Linked DNA regions of Homo sapiens: region 2 is linked to region 1. Evidence: promoter capture Hi-C in 16 types of primary human blood cells and fetal thymus (Javierre and others, 2016). All regions are on one chromosome and are shown on one strand. The core of a region is centred on a gene start or on the middle of the fragment in contact, and the rest is flanking DNA. Distances in the headings are between cores, read along the strand shown. Region 1 holds the start of RPS15 (ribosomal protein S15). Region 2 overlaps POLRMT (RNA polymerase mitochondrial).

Evidence for each region. Contacts are between HindIII fragments. The CHiCAGO score rates a contact against its expected background, and 5 or more counts as called.
Region 2: a contact is called between a fragment that was not itself captured here and the fragment with the promoter of RPS15 in region 1, in 1 of 17 cell types (neutrophils). The highest score is 7.6, in neutrophils.

Annotation. Positions count from the first base shown.
Region 1 is chr19:1,432,963-1,439,645 of GRCh38, forward strand. It overlaps RPS15 (ribosomal protein S15), which reads left to right and starts at 5,434. Exons shown (of 4, transcript NM_001018.5): 1 at 5,434-5,466; 2 at 5,845-5,930. The coding sequence starts at 5,464. It overlaps DAZAP1 (DAZ associated protein 1), which reads left to right. Exons shown (of 12, transcript NM_018959.4): 12 at 1,775-2,722. The coding sequence ends at 1,950. RefSeq lists enhancers at 1,299-1,802, 5,179-6,049, 5,458-5,677. The HindIII fragment of the contact is 15,360 bases long and covers 1-6,683 here.
Region 2 is chr19:622,653-629,335 of GRCh38, forward strand. POLRMT (RNA polymerase mitochondrial) reads right to left here. Exons shown (of 21, transcript NM_005035.4): 4 at 2,472-2,602; 5 at 2,067-2,253; 6 at 802-951; 7 at 169-333; 8 at 1-100. Among named protein-coding and RNA genes, the nearest start is that of POLRMT, 7.5 kb to the right of the region's middle. The HindIII fragment of the contact is 4,568 bases long and covers 1,371-5,938 here.

The DNA of each region.
Region 1 (6,683 bases), core at 4,184-6,683:
GTCGAGGGAAGTGAGTCGCAGGCAGCTGTGATCACTGTCTAGAGGTTCAGGCCCTCGGTGTGGGTCCCGGGTGCACTGGCCCCTTGGTGGGTTCCAGTTTCTGGCGTCATCAGCCTCCTGCTGGGTCCAGACCCCGCTTGGGGCAGAAGCTGGGTCTGTAGTAGGCGTGGCCTGGACGTGGGCTTCACCCTGGACTGGATGGCTGTCGTGGCTTGGGTCTGCCTGGACGTGATCTGCAGGCAGCGCATGTGCTTCCGGGGCAGGAGCTTGTGGGGGGGCGGGGTCAGCATGGGTCAAGGTCTGCATGTCAGTAGTTCTCGCCCTGCACTGAGCCAGGAGTCACAGCAGCCTTGCTCAGGACCAACGCGGTGGCCTCAGTGGGCAGGGCTCCAACTACGGTCAGCTCCTCCAGCACCAGGGGTCATTCACAAGCAGGGTTTGAGAACATGGGGCACCTGTCTGCAGGTGGCCACGGGCTTCCGGGGTGCCTGTGAACACGCTTCCTCTAGGCCTGGTGGAGGCCGGGGTGTGGGAGCTGTGTTCGGCCGAGGTGCCCGCCCACCCACCTCGCATGGCTGTGGTTCCCCTGCCCCCACGCCCAGGCCTTGGGCCGAGGTTGCCGCATGTGTGGGTTCTTGACCCACTCACCACCAAACCCTGGCGTGTCTGAGACTGGCAGGGGGGTGTGAGGCGCCCGGTTGGGGCGTGGCGTGTGTCAGCCGCTGCTCTTGGTGGCGGCTGCTTGGGTTGGTCACCCTGGTCTCGTCTCTTGCCAGGCCTGGGTTCCTATTCTCCAGCCCCGCCGGGCTGCGGCCCACACTTTGTTTACAGTCTTATGGTCAGGCTGAGCAGTGATGTGGCCTAGGTAGGTGCCGCCTCCTTCTCCAGGGTCCTCCCACCCGCCTGCACCGGGAGGTGGACGTGGCTTCCTCTGCCGTCCCGGGCGGGGGTGGACGCTGGCGGTGCCCTCTGGGAAGGGGCCCTTGCCGGTGCCAAGACATTGGCCACAAGCCTTCAGCGGGCCCAGGATCCCCCAGAGAGAGCCCACGCCCACCTGTGCCCACGTGCACCCGAATGGGAACCCAGAGGTCGTGGGAGGGGCTTCCTGCAAGGTGTGCAGCGGGGTGGGGAGCGGCGTGAGCAGCTCTGTCCTTGTAAAGACACCGCTGTCCATGCTCCTGAGGTCGGCTGTGTGGGCCGGACGGGCTGCAGGGTGTGCTGGCCCCTCAGCCAGTGGTGTCACTGGGGCAGTCAGGTTGGGCCCAGAAACCCTTCCCTGACACGTGCCACCGATGGACGTGCCCTGACAGGAAGGACAACGTGGGGTCTGGTCTGCGACGGAGGGGCAGGCCCTGTATCGCTGCAAGGGCCCGTCAGGGGTTTTCTGAAACTCCGAGAGCCAGCTTTCTAGAAGCCTGGTCCACCGTGCCTTGGGCCATGTGTGTCTCCAAGCCCCGAGGCTTCTCTACCTCCCCTCACCCCCCCAACCACGTCTTCGGGATTGAACAGGGAAGCGGTGAGGTTACGTGGGCCATGGAGGGCTCTGGAAGCCGCTTTTCTCTGTGTGTGCCCCTGCTCACATGTTTTTGAGGGAGAGAACATGCCCGGGGTCCTCTCCCCGGCCCAGGTGCTGGCCTCAGAAGGGCCCCACCCGCACCCCGTGGGACCCGTGGACTCAAGGCAGGCTCGGCGGAGCTGTGTCCAGGTGGCCTCGCTCGACGGCAGTGCCAACCGCCCAGGGACCGCCCCGAGCTCACAGGACTTTCTCCCCCAGCAGGTTACGGGCAGGACTTGAGTGGCTTCGGACAGGGCTTCTCAGACCCCAGCCAGCAGCCTCCTTCCTACGGGGGTCCCTCCGTGCCAGGGTCGGGGGGCCCCCCCGCCGGCGGCAGCGGCTTTGGACGAGGGCAGAACCACAACGTGCAAGGGTTCCACCCCTACCGACGCTAGCCCGCGGCGCCGCGACGTCTGCACGGCCCAGACCCAGGATTCCAAACTTGTGAACTCGTGACAATCACAAACTTGGCGGCAAAGTGGCGACTCAACCTTGGGGGGGGGGGCGGGGGGAGGGCGCGAGGCTTTTGGAGCGGCTGTGGGTGTCGTCTGGACTGAGGTTTTTAAATATTTCTTTCTCTAACCCATCAGCACAATAAAAAAAAGTCACTGGTTCAACAACAGGGTTTAAAAAAAATGTCTTCAGCTTTAATTCAAAACTTCAGGTTTCTTTTTCTTCCTTTTTTTTGGAAATTATTTTCCTGAGCCTTTTGTTTTACGGTATATTGTAAACTTTTATGTTAAAGAAAAAATATACATTTACAAATTGTGAGATTTTTAAGAGAAATTTTCTACGATGTATACTGGCTTATTTTTTAATTTAAAACGGGGTTTCCGTCGGCACTGGTGGAGGGGGTGCGCTGTTAGTCCCCTCGCTCCTGGCTTTGGGGGTTGGGACTTGGTGGTCCAGAAACTCTGGGAGCTTCTAGAAGAAATCTACTGAGTGTATTTCTGTTTTTTGTTTAATTCCTTGCTTTTGTCGACTGACCTGCTTGGTAGTGTCTGAGGTGAACTGTGGGGGTTGCGCACAGCCAGCCGCGTGGATCCCACGCAGCGCTGAACCGAACCGAGTAGGAAGCCTTTCTCCCCAGGCACGTGGCTTCAGGGCGTTTCCCATTGACCAGTTTGACCCTGGTTTGAATAAAGAGAAGTGCGTTTGGATTAGAAACCACTTTGTGTCCGTTTTTTCCCTCCTTGGTCTTGGCCTGTGCCTACCCTTCCAGTGCCTAGGAAAGGTCTGAAACGCGACGGAGGCGCCCTCGCCCTCCCCTTGGCTCTTGGTGGTCTCAGCAACCCCGAGGGCTTCAGGGCAGAGGCTGAGTGGCGAGCTGGGCCCATCCCTCAGTGGGTCTTGGGATGCTGTGACTTTGAGGATGTGGCCACCACCAGTTTTCTCGGGGAATGTGGGCTCCAGGCTTTTCCCATCTCAAGACCTTTAATCATATCTTTTGCCATGGAAGGTGACATATCCCCAGGTTCTGGGGATTAGGACAGGGGCATCTTTGGAAAGGGATACTCTGTCACTGTGGCAGGGAAGGCGAGACTTAAAAAGGGCCGGGCGCGGTGGCTCACGACTGTAATCCCAGCACTTTGGGAGGCCGAGGCGGGCGGATCACCTGAGGTCGGGAGTTCGAGACCAGCCTGACCAACATGGAGAAACCCCGTCTCTACTAAAAATACAAAAATTAACCGGGTGTGGTGGTGCATGCCTGTAATCCCAGCTACTTGGGAGGCTGAGGCAGAAGAATCGCTTGAACCTGGGAGGCGGAGCTTGCAGTGAGCCGAGATTGCGCCATTGCACTCCAGCCTGGGCAACAAGAGCGAAACTCCGTCTCAAAAAACAAAACAAGAAAAAAAAAGGACCATGAAGTCCCAAACTGGAAGCCTACAGCGTGCCAGGCGTGAGACTGTTCAGGCGACAGCCAGAACCACCCCCCCCCGCCCCAGTTCATATTTTGGGGACAGGGAAGGTTTGACTTAGTTTGGAGAGAACCAAGAGAAGGGGTACCCCCAACATCCCTGTGCAGTGCAGTTTCCTCACTGAGACAGTACCCCTCAACGCCTCAGCCCAGGAAGCCAGCTCCATTCCCTGCCGTCAGAGCCTTCTCCCATGTCCTCAGGAGCTGCTGCCCCAGCTCCCAGGAGGGCCAGGCGGGGGCGGCTGTCTATCCACACCACAGGTCATCATGGTGTTGAGTGTCAGCCCCTCCCGTTACATTAGCTCCCCCAGCCAAAGAGCAGCACTCACAAAATCAGCTTTCCAGCCAGGACACTCTGCTGCAGGAAAATGGGTAACATGGACGGGCCCGACACATAGGTCCTGTGCTCCTCGGGACGGAGACTCAGCCCTCCCTGAGTACAGTGTAATTGGCTTCCCTTGGGACTGTGGGGACGGCTGGGGAGAGCTCAGCTCCCTGGACAGTGCCACAGCTAAGCTCGGGTTCCCAGAGGTTTTGTGCTTTTTTTTTTTCTTTTTCTTTTTTTTTTTTTTTTTTTTTTTTGAGAAGGAGTCTCTGTCGCCCAGGCTGGAGTGCAGTGGTGCGATCTCAGCTCACTGCAACCTCCGCCTCCCGGGTTCAAGCGGTTCTCCTGCCTCAGCCTCCCAAGGAGCTGGGATTACAGGCACCCACCACCACGCCTGGCTAATTTTTTGTATTTTTAGTAGAGTTAGGGTTGGTCAGCTTGGTCTTGAACTCTTGACCTCAGGTGATCCGCCCGCCTCGGCCTCCCAAAGTGCTGGAATTACAAGCATAAGCCACCACGCCCAGCCAGGTGCCACATCCATAGTTAATAGTCACCTTCAACTTTATACTTAATTCCAGTAAGATACAGAAACATCACTCCTAGGCCAGGCGCGGTGGCTCACGCCTGTAATCCCAGCACTTTGGGAGGCCAAAGCGGGTGGATCACCTGAGGTCAGGAGTTCGAGACCAACATGGCCTGGCCAACATGGAGAAACCGTGTCTTTACTAAAAATACAAAATTAGCCGGGCACGGTAACAGGTGCCTGTAATCCCAGCTACTTGGGAGGCTGAGGCAGGAGAATCGCTTGAACCCAGGAGGCAGAGGTTGCAGTGAGCCGAGATCACACCACTGCACTCCAGCCAGGGCAACAAGAGTGAAACTCTGTCTCAAAAAAAAAAAAAAGTCACTCCTACATAGTTCTAGTTACTCCTTCTCTTTGAGCTATCATTATTCACATTACATTTACATATCTTAACAAACCCAGTGATATTCCTAACTTTATTTTTGAGGCAGGGTCTTGCTCTGTCGCCCAGGCTGGAGTGCCGTTGGCGCGATCACGGCTCACTGCAGCCTTGACCTCCTGGGCTGAAGGCTCAGCCTCCCGAGTAGCTGGGAATTTTTTGTACTTTTTATTCTTTTATGTCCGTGTGTACACAAATTTTTGTATTTTTTTGTAGAGAGGCAGTCTCACTGTGTTGTCCTTACTAACTTTATATACAAAATTTTATCTGTTAAAGCCGGAATGGTTCTTTTCAGCGAGGCCCTGTCCCTGCTCCAGTATCTGTAATGAATTCTCGTGTTCCTCCCACAGTGGGACCTGAACCGCCAAACCGCACCTACGAGCAAACGGTAGGCGCTCCATAAATACTTGTTGATGTGGGTGCCATCGTGTAGATGACGGAGCACGAACCCGAGGCTCAGACAGGGGCGGCGACTTGTCCAAAGTCCCACTCCGTGGAGGAAGCGGCTCTGCAGACCTCAGGCGGCGGCTGCTCTAATCCCTGCAGCCTGTGTTTTGCCCTCCAGACGGCAGAGGGCGCGTGTTCGCCGCCGGGAAAGCGGAAGCGCGTGTGCGCGCACGGCCGAGGGGGCGGGACATGCCGGCAGTCTCGCGATAACTGCGCAGGCGCGGACCAAAGCGATCTCTTCTGAGGATCCGGCAAGATGGTGAGTGTTGCGATTTGGCGCGTCTCTGCCGGGCCTATCCGGCTCCATCCAACCTCTGACCGTCTCGCGGGGGCCGCAGTTCGTCCCCGCGGCTACGGCGGCTTGCTCCCGACCCTGCAGGCGGCTGGATGTTGGGGCGAGGGGCGGACTTGGTGGGTGTCGGGACGACGCGGGGCTGGGAAGGCCTGTCCGGGCCTTCATGTCCGGGTCCTCGTAACCCGGAGCCGCGAGTGATCCCCGGGGACGGGTCGAAGCGGTGTGTCCCTGTCGGGCTTCTGTCCCCGGCGGCGCCGCGCGTCTTCCGCGGTGTCCTCGGGCCCGGTGGCCCCGGGAGATGGGTGTCGGGATCCCGCTGACGCCCGATCCGCGCCCGCACAGGCAGAAGTAGAGCAGAAGAAGAAGCGGACCTTCCGCAAGTTCACCTACCGCGGCGTGGACCTCGACCAGCTGCTGGACATGTCCTAGTAAGGGCGGCCGCGGGGGTCGCGGGCAGGGGCTGGGCCAGCGGTGGGGCTTGTCCGGGTGAGGGCGGCGGGGCGGGGGTCCAAGCGCCTCTGCGGCGGTGGGCGGGCACGGTCTCCGCGCGGGTTTGGAACTGAGTGTGGTCTTGCGCCCAGAAAACTGTCCAGAGACGTTGAGGTTTTTGCTTATTTGCAACCTGCCCCCCGTTGTTCACTTTTCCGCGGCTTAGTTGGAAGGTGTAGCCCCTGTCTGTAGCCCACGTGACTTAGAATAAGGGGCTGCGTTAGACTCCTTAGATTTTAAGGGCGGTGGAGGTCGCTGGGTCCTTTCCAGGCAGGGTGGTGGTGGGCATCTGGCTTGCGCTTTTATTTTTTAATTTTTGATTATTTTGAGGCGGAGTCTCATCCTGTCGCCCAGGCTGGAGTGCAATGGCTCCGTCCCAGCTCACTGCAGCCTCCCACTCCCGGGTTCAAGCGATTCTCTTGCCTCAGCCTCTCGAGTAGCTGGGATTAGAGGGCCCCCCCACCACGTCCGGCTAATTTTTGTATTTTTAGTAGAGACGAGTTTCAGTGTTGCCCAGGCTGGTCTCAAACTCCTGACCTCAGGTGATCCACCTGCCTCGGCCTCCCAAAGTGCTGGGATTACAGGCGTGAACACCGCGCCCGACCTTGATTTTTGATTATTTGTGGAAACAGCGTTTCTCTGTGTCGTCCAGGTTGGTCTTGAACTCCTGGGCTCAAGCGACCCTCCCGCCT
Region 2 (6,683 bases), core at 2,405-4,904, 810 kb before region 1:
CCCGCTGCCTCTGCACCACGTGCCGGCTGAAAGTGCGCGCACTCAGCTCCCGGGCCAGGGTGGTGAAGGACTCACCTTGGGCGGGCAGCGCCTGCAGGACCTGCGGAAGGCAGCCGTGAGTGCCTGCCCGCCCCGCCCGGGGACCCGGCCGCGCGGAGGAAGACGCACCTGCAGGAGCATCCGCACCACCTCGCGCTCGTCCAGCAGGCACAGGAAGGGGTAAAGTGAGAACCGGCCCTCGTACACCTCGCGCTCTAGGCGGTTCTTGGTCTCCCGCAGCGCCCGGCACAGTGCTTTCTCCCATTGGTCCCGCAGGGTCTTCAGGGTCTTCCGCTGCGGGGGATGAACGGGCCCGGTGAGCCCCGTGGCAGCTGGTGGGACCCAGGCTCACAGGACGGGGGTCACCGCAGCTCCCTGCAGAGACCTCATGGCCCTCAAGGTCCCTGCTGTGTGTTCCGGGTAGCTCCTCACCCCGGCCTGCCCTCTGCCGGCTTCAGCGTGCCTGACGCAGCCAAGAGCAAAAGCCCAGCTGCAGTGTGCGCAGAAGCACAGGCCAAGACCCAACCTCGGGACCCCACAAGTTTTCCCTGAGCGGCAGCCAGGCTGAGTTCCTAGGCCCTGCATGACCAGACCAGGGCATGAGCAATTCAACCGCATACACGGAGCTCAGCCCCTGCGGCGGACACGCGACCCCGGCTCAGCCCCTGCGGCGGACACGGGACCCCGGCTCAGCCCGTGCGGTGGACACGCGACCCCGGCTCAGCCCCTGCGGCGGACACGGGACCCCGGCTCAGCCCCTACCGCGTGCTTGACCTCCTTGCTTGGCAACGTGGGCTTCTCCACGGACACCACGCACACCCTGCTGGCCAGCTCCATGTGGAGCTGCTTCTCAAAGAGGCACTGCAGGGTCTTCAAGGGCAGGTGCAGCTTCGGGTAGGACACACGCCCATCCTGCAGGGATGGGGGTAGTGAGGTTGGGGGCTTGCCAGAGGGCGACCTGCCCTCCCAGGACCCCGAGACAGCATGGGTGCACGCGTTTCTGCGTCTCCTGCAAGTTGCTGGTGGCTATCGCTGACGCGGGGAAAGGCGGGCTGCGGGTAAAGTCAGTGCCAGCAGTGCAAACCAAAGGCCTTGACCCTCCTGGCCTCGACCCCTCTAGAAGGGACACTGGGCACCGTGCAGGGGGTGGCAGGGGCGGTGATGCTGGGAGCTGGCAGAGCCTGGGGAGACCGTTCACTGCACCCCCAGATGTTGGCTGTTTTCTCCTCAAACTCAGAACTGTATGAATGTGACCCATCCAGAAATAGATGAATTAAAAATAACAACTAAAGCCTAGCGCTTTGAGAATCAAAGACGCACGTCCACATAAAAGCTTGTACACAAACGTTCACAGCTGCATGACTCGCAGTCGATAAGTAGAAACAGCCCAACGTCCCATAAACGGACGAACAGACGGGCACGGCGCGGCCATCCACGCACCGGAGCATGACTCAGCCCTGACCCAGGTCGCCTCCCGGAGGCACCATGAGGACGTCACGCTCAGTGGGAGATGCCAAACACAAAAGGTCTCGCAGTGTGTGGTCCCATTTCTATGGAATGTCCAGAGCAGACTCATCCACAGATGGGGAGGGGATGGGGAGTGACGGGGATGGGGACGAGGCTTCCTTTTAGGGTGATGGAACATTCTAGAATTAGACAACCGTGACTACACTAAAATCGCTGAATTACACCTTTAAGAGGGTTTTATGGCAGGTGAATTACACCTCAGTAACAGACGAGCCCACTGCGTGCACCTGGCAGCCCCACTCAAACGCACTGCTCTCCTGTCACCCCACCCTCTCTCTGCGGCCCCCGACCACCTCGTCCCCCTGAGCCCACACCCTCAGGGCCAAGACCCTCCCAGCTCTGGGTCCTCCCATCTTCTCAGAGGAGGAAGGGAGGAATTCAGGGCCCAGCCCAGGTGAGCCCTGGGCACCGGGGAGGCCCATTGGTCTGAGCTGAGGCTCCAGGAACCCCCAAAGGGCAGCTATAAGGACTGAAGTCTGCCGGGGCCCACGTGGGCTCACCTTGGCATACACGTCCCTGAGCAGCTTGGAGGTGTTGACCGGGGGCGGCAGCTGCGGCGGGAGGCTGAAGGTGGGCTTCACCTTGTGCACGGCCTTCAGAACAGTGGCCCGATCCTCCTCAGACAGCAGAACGGCGGTGAAGAGTGCCTGCAGCTTCAGCCCCTCCTGGCTCATCTGTTCCAGACACCTGTGGTGCAGGCGGCCTGCTCGAGGGACGGGCCAGCCCCACGCTGGGCTTCCACAGACCCCAGGGGAACCTCGTGACCACCTCCTGCTAGCCTGCAGGTCTCGGTGTGGCTGTCAGGCCCTCTGGGGGTCCCCAGCCCCCAGCCCAGGCACCGTCCCAGATCTTAAAACCCTGGGAGGGACATGGTGGGGGGTGGGGGCCCTCCCGACACCACCTACCTTTCGATGGTCCCGGCGTCCTGGTCCTGCCTCCCCATGCACTGGAGGGCAGCCGCATAGGACAGCAGGTCCGGAGTCAAGCCGGCATCCTTCACCATGAATAACACATATACCAGCTCCTTGAAGGCACCCTGGGAGACCAAGCCAGGGTGAGGGTCTGGGGGGATGGCCCAACCTCCACATCCTCCCTGCTCCCTGGAGACCCCTTCTCTGTAGCCACCAGCTCAGCAGGGGACAGGGTCACCAGGCAGGAGTGGCCAGCTGGGCAGACCGATGCATCCCCCTGAGGTTCTGACACACAAGCTCCACCTGCAGAGGCAGCCGCATGGCCCGCCAGGTGGGACTGTGGGAGGTTCACGTTCCTCTGGGAGGCAGCTTGTTAAACCTCCAGATTTGTCAATTGTGTGGATCTTTTCAAAGGACTGACTTGGCTTGACTGTTCTCTGCTGTTTCTGCCTTCCATTTCATCGATTTGTTTTAATCTTTGTAACTTCCTCTCATCTACTTGCTTTAGGTTTAGTGACAGCTTCTTCTTCTAGTTTCCTAAGGTGAAAGGTGACGTATTTGGTCTGAGATGTTTCACTTTTTTTCCCCCCAAGATGGAGTCTTGCTCTGTTGCCCAGGCTGGAGTGCAGTGGCACAATCTCAGCTGGGCCGGGTTCTCTGCCTCCCAGGTTCCAGCACTTCTCCTGCCTCAGCCTCCTGAGTAGCTGGGATTACAGGCACACGCCACCACACCAGCTAATTTTTTGTATTCTTAGCAGATACGGGGTTTCACCATGCTGGCCAGGCTGGTCTCGAACTCCTGACATCGTGATCCGCCAGCCTCAGCCTCCCAAAGTGCTGGGATGACAGGTGTGCACCACCGCGCCCGGCCATCACCTTTCCGAATATAGGCATTTTGTGACTATAAATTACCCTGCGAGCACTGTGTCAGCTGCATCCCAGGACTTCTGACAGGTGGTGTTTTCATTTTCATTATCTCCAAGTGTTTTCGAACTTCATAGTTTACTTCTTCTTTGGAAATTTTATTTAATTATTTTTTTAGATAGAGTCTCGCTCTGTCGCCCAGGCTGGAGTGCAGTGGCGCAATCTCAGCTCACTGTCAACCTCCGCCTCCCGGGTTCAACCGATTCTCCTGCCTCAGCCTCCTGAGTAGCTGGGACTACAGGCACATGCCACCACACCCAGCTAATTATTTTGTATTTTTAGTAGAGATGGGGTTTCGCCCTGTTGGCCAGGCTGGTCTCCAACTCCTGACCTCAGGGGATCCACCCGCCTCGGCCTCCCAAAGTGCTGGGATTACAGGTGTGAGCCACCACGCCCAGCCATGTATAGCTTAAATATCCCCTGCAATTTTTTTTTTTTTCATTTAATTTTTGGCCAGGCACAGTGGCTCATGCCTGTAACCCCAGCACTTTGGGAGGCCAAGACAGGAGGATCACAAGGTCAGGAGTTTAAGACCAGCCTGGCCAACATAGTGAAACCCCATCTCCACTAAAAATACAAAAAAAAAAAAAAAAAATTAGCTGGGCGTGGTGGCTCATGCCTGTGCTCCCTCCACTAAAAATACAAAAAAAAAAAAAAATTAGCTGGGCGTGGTGGCACATGCCTGTAATCTCAGCTACTGGGAGCCTGGGGCAGGAGAATCACTTGAACGCAGAAAGCGGAAATTGCGGTAAGCCGGGATCTCACCACTGCACTCCAGCCTGGGAGACAGAAACTTTGCTGTCGACAGACTTGGAGACTCTGTCTTAAAATATACACACACACACATATATATATATATATAAAATAACATATATATATAATTTTTTTCTTGTATTCATTTTTCCTGACATCCCTGTTCTGAGCAATTTCTCCTTTGACCCAGTGGCTGCTTAAGAGTGGCCTGTAACTGTAACAGACTATTCCAAAGGGAAAAAAATTCCCTTACATCCTCCCACCCCATAGTCCTGCAGCTGAAGACATGCTGTGACATGAGGTGGCCACACACCAGAGACCAGAGACATGAGTTTTGGGGCATTTTTTTTTTTTTTTTTTTTTGAGACGGAGTCTCGCTCTGTCGCCCAGGCTGGAGTGCAGTGGCTCGATCTCGGCTCACTGCAAGCTCTGCCTCCCAGGTTCACTCCATCCTCCTGCCTCAGCCTCCCAAGTAGCTGGGACTGCAGGCGCCCGCCACCACACCCGGCTAATTTTTTGTATATTTTTAGTAGAGACGGGGTTTCACTGTGTTAGCCAGGATGGTCTCATCTCCTGACCTCGTGATCCGCCCGCCTCAGCCTCCCAAAGTGCTGGGATTACAGGCGTGAGCCACTGTGCCCGGCCGGTTTTGGGGCAGTTTCTAAACAACCTCTGTATGGTAGACCTCACTGGCCACACATAGTCCTTAAATTGAAATATTCAGTTCTTCCCTTTCACCAGCTTCAAGTGTTCAGTAGCACACACAGCTGTTGGCAGATGCGGAAAATTCCCAACATCATAGAAAGTTCTACTGGATGGTGCTGGTTAGAATACGTGGCCGGGCGCGGTCGCTCACGCCTGTAATCCCAGCACTTAGGGAGGCTGAGGCGGGCGGATTACCTGAGGTCAGGAGTTTGAGACCAGCCCGGCCAACATGGCAAAAGCCCGTCTCTACTAAAAATACAAAAATTGGCCGGGCGTGGTGGTGAGTCCCTGTAATCCCAGCCACTCAGGAGGCTGCGGCAGGGAGAATTATTGAACCCAGGAGGCGGAGGCTGTAGTGAGCCGAGATCATGGCACTGCACCCTAGCCTGGGCAACAGACAGAGAGTCTATCTCAAAAAAAAAAAAAAAAAAAAGATAGAAGCAATGCCTTAGCCTGGCTAACATGCTGAAACCCCACCTCTACTAAAAATAAAAATTAAAACAATTATCCGGGGGTGGTGGCACACGCCTGTAATCCCAGCTGCTCGGGAGGCTGAGCTCGCAGTCCAGCGACATCCAGGACTGCTGGCCACCCCGGAACGCTGGGAGAGGCAGGAGGGGCCCCTGCTAGAGCCTCTGGAGAGACTTCGGGTCTGCAGACATCTTGATTCCAGACTTCTGGGCTCGTGCTAAGAGTGCGTTTCTGCTGTGCAAGCCGCCAGGTTTGGGACACTTTCGTAGGGGCCGATCCCAAAAGCGCCCTGTTACAGTGTGGGCTCTCTGCCCAGGGAATCCAGGGGGCTTGTGACCTTGGAGGGGAAAATACACGACCCTCATCCTCAGTCCTCCCGGAGTCTGGCGCCCCCTGCAGCAAGGAGGAACCAGGCAGCACGCCGCCTCCACCTCGCGGTAAGAGCACTGCGGACTTCACCGCAAGACTGGCCCCACCTGATCCTGAATTTCGCTGTTTGATGCGTTAATAAAGAAGCACATCAAGTTCTCTACCACGAATTGGTCTTAATATTGCGATATCTGTATTTTAATATAATAGTATCCCATGTTTACCCAAATATTAAGAGAAGCTTTTACTGTTGTTTCTCAAATTAGGGCTGAAGGATCATGGGGGGGGAGAAAGCTGGGAACGTTTGCTGCTTTGAAAGGGTGTGTAAACAACACCCTCCAAAACAACCAAGAGTTCCGAGGAGAAACTTTGGCCGGATACGGTGGCTCACGCCTGTAATCTCAGCTCCTCGGGAGGCTCAGGGGGGCAGATCACGAGGTCAGGAGTTTGAGACCAGCTTGGCCAACACGGTGAAACCCCCGTCTCTACTCAAAATACAAAAATTAATCGGGGGTGGTGGCGGGCACCTGTAACTCCAGCTACTTAGGAGGCTGAGGCAGGATAATCACTTGAACCTGGGAGGTGGAGGTGGCCATGAGCCGAGATCGCACCACCGCACTCCAACCTAGTAACAGGGAGAGTATGTCCCAGAAAACAAATAAATAAACAAACAAAAAGAAAACGGCAAGGGAAATTGGAAAATACTCCAGATGAACCACAACGAAGATGGGTGGGATACATCTAAAGCTGTGCTCAGAGGGAATGCGGCGCCAGTGAACACCCACATTTCACACAGAAGGATCTCAGCACAGCAGCCCGACCTTCCACCTCAGGAAACCAGAAAAAGGAGCAAAGTCAACCCCAACACCAAAGCCTCATCCTGACGAGGGCTCTGCAGGCTGCCCCCCGACGAGGCCAAAAGCACCCCTGCCCAGACAGATTCACGAGCCCCGAGAAAGAACGGAAGGAAATGCTCAAGGCATT